2 separate regions of the Homo sapiens genome follow, and region 1 is linked to region 2. The links are contacts of gene promoters, found by promoter capture Hi-C in human tissues and cell types (Jung and others, 2019). All regions are on one chromosome and are shown on one strand. The core of a region is centred on a gene start or on the middle of the fragment in contact, and the rest is flanking DNA. Distances in the headings are between cores, read along the strand shown.

The links. The method cuts DNA at HindIII sites, captures the fragments that hold promoters and counts their contacts. A contact is called where the count stands out against the background at its distance.
Region 1: a contact is called between a fragment that was not itself captured here and the fragment with the promoter of OIP5 in region 2, in 1 of the 25 tissues and cell types used here (mesenchymal stem cells).

What each region holds. Positions count from the first base shown.
Region 1 is chr15:40,700,090-40,703,351 of GRCh38, forward strand. It overlaps RAD51 (RAD51 recombinase), which reads left to right. Exons shown (of 10, transcript NM_002875.5): 3 at 975-1,112. Among named protein-coding and RNA genes, the nearest start is that of RAD51, 6.5 kb to the left of the region's middle. The HindIII fragment of the contact is 3,762 bases long and covers 1-3,262 here.
Region 2 is chr15:41,330,680-41,333,900 of GRCh38, forward strand. OIP5 (Opa interacting protein 5) reads right to left here and starts at 1,912. Exons shown (of 5, transcript NM_007280.2): 1 at 1,561-1,912; 2 at 1,236-1,302. The coding sequence starts at 1,882. NUSAP1 (nucleolar and spindle associated protein 1) reads left to right here and starts at 2,202. Exons shown (of 11, transcript NM_016359.5): 1 at 2,202-2,371. The coding sequence starts at 2,279. RefSeq lists an enhancer at 1,666-1,925. The HindIII fragment of the contact is 6,722 bases long and covers 1-3,221 here.

The DNA of each region.
Region 1 (3,262 bases), core at 465-2,964, 630 kb before region 2:
CTTAAATATTAATAGCAGACATGGCTTATGTTGGCAAACTAATCTCTCCCCTCTTCTAAATTCTCCCAACCCCTGAATGCACCCACATTCACCTACTAACTCATGTTTTCCCAGAAGTCATGGTTTTGGTGGCTAATGAAACCAAAGCTGACTTGAATATAGGAAGAAAGAGGTGTCTTTGGGTGGTTTGTTTTGAGAAGAGGTATAAAAGTCCCTGACAAAAAGTAGTTTTCCTCACTGTTAATGTCAGTTGTTAGAGCAGAGCTTTCTGGTCATTGTTCAACAAAAAGTATTGACAGGCCAAGATAGTGCTCTTTATATTCTGAGCAGCCTTATCTATTTACCCTACCATAGTGTAAAAATACAGTTTTTTATGTGTGCTTGATGTGGAAAGTGTTGAGCAACACTGTCTTAAAGTGGTCTTGTAGGGCCCAAGGTCTCAGAGATCATTTAGGGTCACAAAAAAAGGTTGGGAGTTACTTTTTAATTCCAATTGCTAATAGGAGTTCTTTTTAATGTACATGGCTTAGTGCTAGTTTAAAATTATTGATTTTGATAATGAAAAGGTTGTTAATTTGTTATTAAGTACCTCATATATAGGGCTCATTTTTCAGCTTTTGCATATAATAACAGTAGGCTCTCTGTATCTCCGGATTCTGTATCAGCAAATTCAACAAACTACGTATCAAAAATTCAATCAACTACATATCAAAAAAAAGTATACAGGAGGATGTACATAGGTTATATGCAGGTAATACGCCATTTTATATAAGGGACTTGAGCATTGTTGGATTTTGTTATCTGCTGGGGGTCCTGGAACCAACTTCCCATCTCCCCCCGCCCCCCCAAGGATTTCAAGGGACAGTTGTATTACAAGTCTTCAAGCACCTCTGTGAAGTATGTAGGACACATAACATCTGTGTTAGATTAGAGAACTAAAGCTTAAATTTATCCATGGTTTTCTTCATTTGCAGCAGTGTGGCATAAATGCCAACGATGTGAAGAAATTGGAAGAAGCTGGATTCCATACTGTGGAGGCTGTTGCCTATGCGCCAAAGAAGGAGCTAATAAATATTAAGGGAATTAGTGAAGCCAAAGCTGATAAAATTCTGGTAAGTACTGCTTACTTAACCTAGGGAGGCATTAGTGGGAATAGTACAAAAGGGAATGTAGTGAAAGACTTCTTCCTTCTATCTCTTATTCTTCGGTCATCTCATTATCCTTTCCAGGGGTGACTGTTACCTGTTTCTTTTCTTCTTTTCTTTTCTTTTCTTTTTTTTTTCTTTCTTTTTTTTTTTTTTTGGAGACGGGTTCTCGCTCTGTCACACAGGGTGGAGTGCAGTGGTGCCATCTCAGCTCACTGCAACCTTCACCTCCCAAGCTCAAGCGATCCTCTCACCTCAGCCTCCCAAGTAGCTGGGACTACACTACAGGCACATGCCACCATGCCGGGGTAGTCTCGAACTCCTGAGCTCAGGCGATTCACCTACCTCAGCCTCCCAAAGTGCTGGATTATAGGTGTGAGCTACTGTGCCTGGCCTATTTATTTTTCTAGCTTCATATAGTTCTTTAACATACATACTTCCCCATGGTTACATTTTGTTTTATGAACCTATTTCTTCAGTGTTTATATAGTTACACAGTTTTATTGCCTTTACCCTTGAAGTTTTATGTAGTATAAAGCAGATTTTTTTTTTTTTTTTTTTTTTTTTTGAGACGGAGTCTCGCTCTGTTGCCAGGCTGGAGTGCAATAGCGTGATCTTGGTCTACTGCACCCTCCGCCTCTCAGGTTCAAGTGATTCTCCTGCCTCAGCCTCCCGAGTAGTTGGGACTACAGGTATGTGCCACCACACCCAGCTAATTTTTGTATTTTTATTAGAGACAGGGTTTCACCACGTTGGCCAGGATGGTCTCGATCTCCTGACCTTGTGATCTGCCCACCTCAGCCTCCTAAAGTGCTGGGATTACAGGTGTGAGCCACCGCGCCCCACCGCAAATATTTATTTATAAAATTGTATTTTCACGTATCGATTACTGTTAGCGTTAGATAAATTTATTGGATTACTCAAATGAATATTTGCTGAAGTGGTTGCTTAATTGGAAATAAGGGTTCTGAGTCCCTAACAGTATTTTTGTTAAAAGATTGTCATATTGACTAAGCCAGTAGGGGTCCCTAAAGTCTTTCTGTTTTCGCTTTTTGGGTATCAGTTTTTGTGAATGAACAAATGCTGACAGGATCTTTTCTTTTTGCCTTGCGAGATCTTGGTTTCAGAAATCAAGTCACTTCTCTGTTTCTATGAACACAACAATGCAAACCTAGAATACATGATTTGAGATGCAATATGGTATAGACTTACGTGTCTTTACTTTTCAATATTTTATGTTCTTTGTTTCTGGCCAGTAAAGATTATGATTGTATTGTTTGTTTTCTGTTTTTTTTTGAGGCAGAGTGTCGCTGTGTCACCCAGGCTGGAGCACAATGGTGCAATTTTGGCTCTGCTCACTGCAACCTCTGCCTTCCGGGTTCAAGTGATTGTCGTGCCTCAGCCTCCCAAGTAGCTGGGATTACAGGCTCCCACCACCACACGTGGCTAATTTTTGTATTTTCAGTTGAGACGGGGTTTCACCATGTTGCCCAGGCTGGTCTCAAACTCCTGGCCTCAAGCAATCTGCCCACCTCAGCCTCCCAAAGTGCTGAAATTACAGGCACTAGCCACTGTGCCCACCTTTTTTTTTTTTTTTTAAAGAAAAAAAAGAAAAGTCTCACTCTGTTGCCCAGGCTGGAGTGCAGTGGCATGATCAAAGCTCACTGCAGCTTCAGCTTCAAACTCCTGGGCTCAAGGAATTCTCAGCCTGCTGAGTAGCTGGGACTATAGGCACATGCCACTAGCCTGACCATTTCTACCAGTTTTGTCTTTGCTAATACATTCTCCTGTTTTTCACCAAAGGAAGTAGTCTATATTCCTTGAGCTCCCATGGCTTGTTAGTACTTCTCATATTACCCATCACATCTACTTGTACTATAGTTATTTTGTATAGTTTATCTTTCTGATTAAGTTATAAGCTCTGTGGAGGCAGGAATCAGCTCTTCTTTTTCTCCATATCCTTCAGAGTCCCTGGGACTATGTTTCATACGAAGTAAGTGTCTAGTACATGTTTGTTGCACTGAAATGACAGTGAGTATATGAATTGGCCAGGCTGGTCTCAAAATCCTGGCCTCAGGTAATCCGCCCATCTCAGTATCCCAAAGTGCTGGGATTAC
Region 2 (3,221 bases), core at 662-3,161:
GGTGTGAGCCACCACGCCCGGCCCGTAATCAGTATTTGTAAATGATTAATTTTTCTGTACTAAGTCTTTGAAATCCAGTGTGTATTCTGTGTTCACAGCATATCTCAATGCAGATTTAATAATATATAATAGCTACATATGACTAGTGATTACAGTATAGGACAGCACGGGTCTAGATTCATTAGCCTCCTCTCCAAGAGCACATTCAGGAACCTTCTGCCTCTGGCCCCAGAATACACCCAATTCCAAGCAGGCAATTGCTCCTTCTTGCTTTGTCCCCTTTGGGTGGGAAGGGGACTCCTATAGCGATAGGGAGTGTCTTTTATTCAGGAAAAAGAAAGGGAGCTGTGGGTCTAACTCCGTTTTTGAAGTTTGTCCAAGCTGCAGAAATCTTCCTGGTTACTGGACAAAGCAACTAAGAATTCCTATATTTTAACCGTAACGTTGAATCAAACTGGTCAGAATGAAATGAATTGTCTCAATGTTAAAGCCAAAACTCAAAATTGAGGAGCCTTGCAATACCAAATTCACTGACTACTTTATTGTCACTTGTAAATCATAGTACAGGCAGGTCGCAAAGTTTACCAGGCAGTATTCAAGTACATAACATTCTAGTTGTGTTTTTCTCCAGTTTCTGGGGTTACTGAAGAATTAGCCCTGGCATAGCTTATTACAAACTAACCATAATCGCAAACTTAAAAGTTCTAATATCAAGCGTGGGCAACATACTAAGGCCTCTACAAAAAATTTAAAAATTAGCCGGGAGTGGTGCTGTGTGCCTGTAGTCCCAGCTACTCCGGAGGGTGAGGTTGGGAGGATAGCTTGAGCCAGGAAGGTAGGGGCTGTAGTGAGCTATGAGCGCACCAGTGCACTCCAGCCTGGGCGAGAGCAAGACCCTGTATCAAAAAGTTCTAATATCTAAAAGGATTGTAGTTTATAGTATGTTATTCTCACTGTAAACCAAAAGGTTATTTTTTTCTTTTGTCCACTACTAGATACATCTTTCTTAGCCTCACTTCACTTGTACAAGCCACCTGGGAGAAGTGGCCCTCAGGAAGATCCTAAAACCAATACACAAATACAACTTTTTCATTTCATTAATACATCAAGTTCATATAAGAGTCAAACAGGTAAAAGCAGCATCCCAAACTGTTTTCTCCTCGTACATGTCAGTTCCACGATCCTCAGTCTCATAAAGTCAGGGACTAGAGACCAATGTAATTATCAATACGTACCTGCCTTTGAGTGAACCTTCAATGCCAACTAGGAAGGGCGCTTCCAAAACGACGTTATTTGTAACTCCTAGGAAGACAAACACGGGTCAGAACCCATACTCTGCGGGCCTTGAAATGGAAAATCTCTCCTCTAGACAGACTCATCCTGGCCGTAAATATCAGGAGACTCCCCGATTCCCTGCCCCATCCCCAGGCCAAGGAGTTATTTGCTTCCAACTTTTCATCCCGTTTTCTTCCCCAGGTGGTTCTCCGCCACCCGGTGGAGAAAGCGGGAACACCCTCTCGGGCTAGCCTCTGCCTTTCCCGAACGCTTCACTGCACTCACTGGAGAAGACCACGGCCCCGAGGGACCGCGACAGGTCCCAGGCGAGGTGCACCGAGTCGGCGAGCACTGCGTGACACTGTGCGCACTGGAACACAGCGCACCTCTCAGGCTGCAGCCAAGACGGCAGCTGCGGGCCGGCGGCTGGCTCCTCAGCCCCCAGCCCTGCGGGGCCGAGCGGCGAGGACCCCTTCACCACCTGCGTATCCCACTCCATGGAGGTCGTAAAAGAAGCTTGGTCAATCGCCCTCTCAGTGCCACCACAAAAGTCCCCCCGGGGCGGCGTTGCACAACGTGAGCGATGCCGCAGCGGCTGAGCCGCCATCTTCCCGCAGCCGGCGCCTTCCTTTCGAATACACGCCAGGCCCCGCCCCAAGCACAGCTCCTGCGTCCTCATTGGACATCATGGGCAATCCAAGCACTGGAGTCCGAGTCCGCGCACTCGTTACCTGAACAGGCGTTACAGGCCCTTTGGCGCCTGCGTATTCGTGAAGTGTGAAAAAAGCGCGCCTCTGTTGGGACGGGAAATCAGCCTTTCTATTGGTCAGGGTTAGAAACCCCGCCTTTGAGGCATTTTCAACCAATGGAAGCGCGGCATTCTTCATTTAAACTGTCTATAAATTTCTGCCTAGTCAAAGTTAAGAGTGGCGCCAGGGATTTGAACCGCGCTGACGAAGTTTGGTGATCCATCTTCCGAGTATCGCCGGGATTTCGAATCGCGATGATCATCCCCTCTCTAGAGGAGCTGGACTCCCTCAAGTACAGTGACCTGCAGAACTTAGCCAAGAGTCTGGGTCTCCGGGCCAACCTGAGGGTACGGCGCTGGCGGTGCGGGTCCCTGGGCGGGCGCGGCGGGAATAGCGGCCTCGGGGAGATGCGGTGCGAAGGGACCGAGAGGGAAGCCCGGGACTGAGGCAGCTCTCCCTGCCCCTCGGGCAGTAGATGTGGTTCACGGTAGTCCCAGTTAGAACTCTGATAAACGGAAGAGGAACTGTAGTTTTCACCTCATTTTGAAGCTGGCTTGTCTGGGTGCTCACATGATAAGCTCTATTCCGAGGGATGGTTTATTGTTTTTTGTTTTGTTTTGTTTTGAAATTACTGTATACCTCTCAGGGCGTCGATTACGAAACTCAGGCCCAGAAAGCACAAGGGGTGTCGTTAATCGTTAGACAATTAAGTAAATAATTGGCTCAGCTTCTGGAAAACCCCAAACAGACTCCAGTGATTTGTAATATTGCCGATAATCTCTTGATACTTTATTGATGGACCTGTCAGAAAAAAAAAATCGACTTTTAGGGGAGCACCTCCTTGGGTAAATTTTTATTGATGACTGTTGGGTTGATGGTCTCTATCAAAACCAGTAAGGTCTTTGACTCCGAGGCTACAAGATGTTTGGAGAGTTGGCCCGGCGCTGTGGCTCACGCCTGTAATCCCAGCACTTTGGGAGGTCGAGGCAGGCGGATCACCTGAGGTCAGGAGTTCGAGACCAGCCTGGCCCTTAAAAAATTAGCCGGGCGTGGTGGCACACGCCTGTGATCCAAGCTTTTTGCCTGTGATCCCAGCTACTTGGGAGGCTGAGGCAGAAGAATCGCTTGAACCTGGGAAGCCGAGGTGGCAGTGAGCCAAGATCGCACCACTGCACTCCAACTTCGGTGACAGAGAGA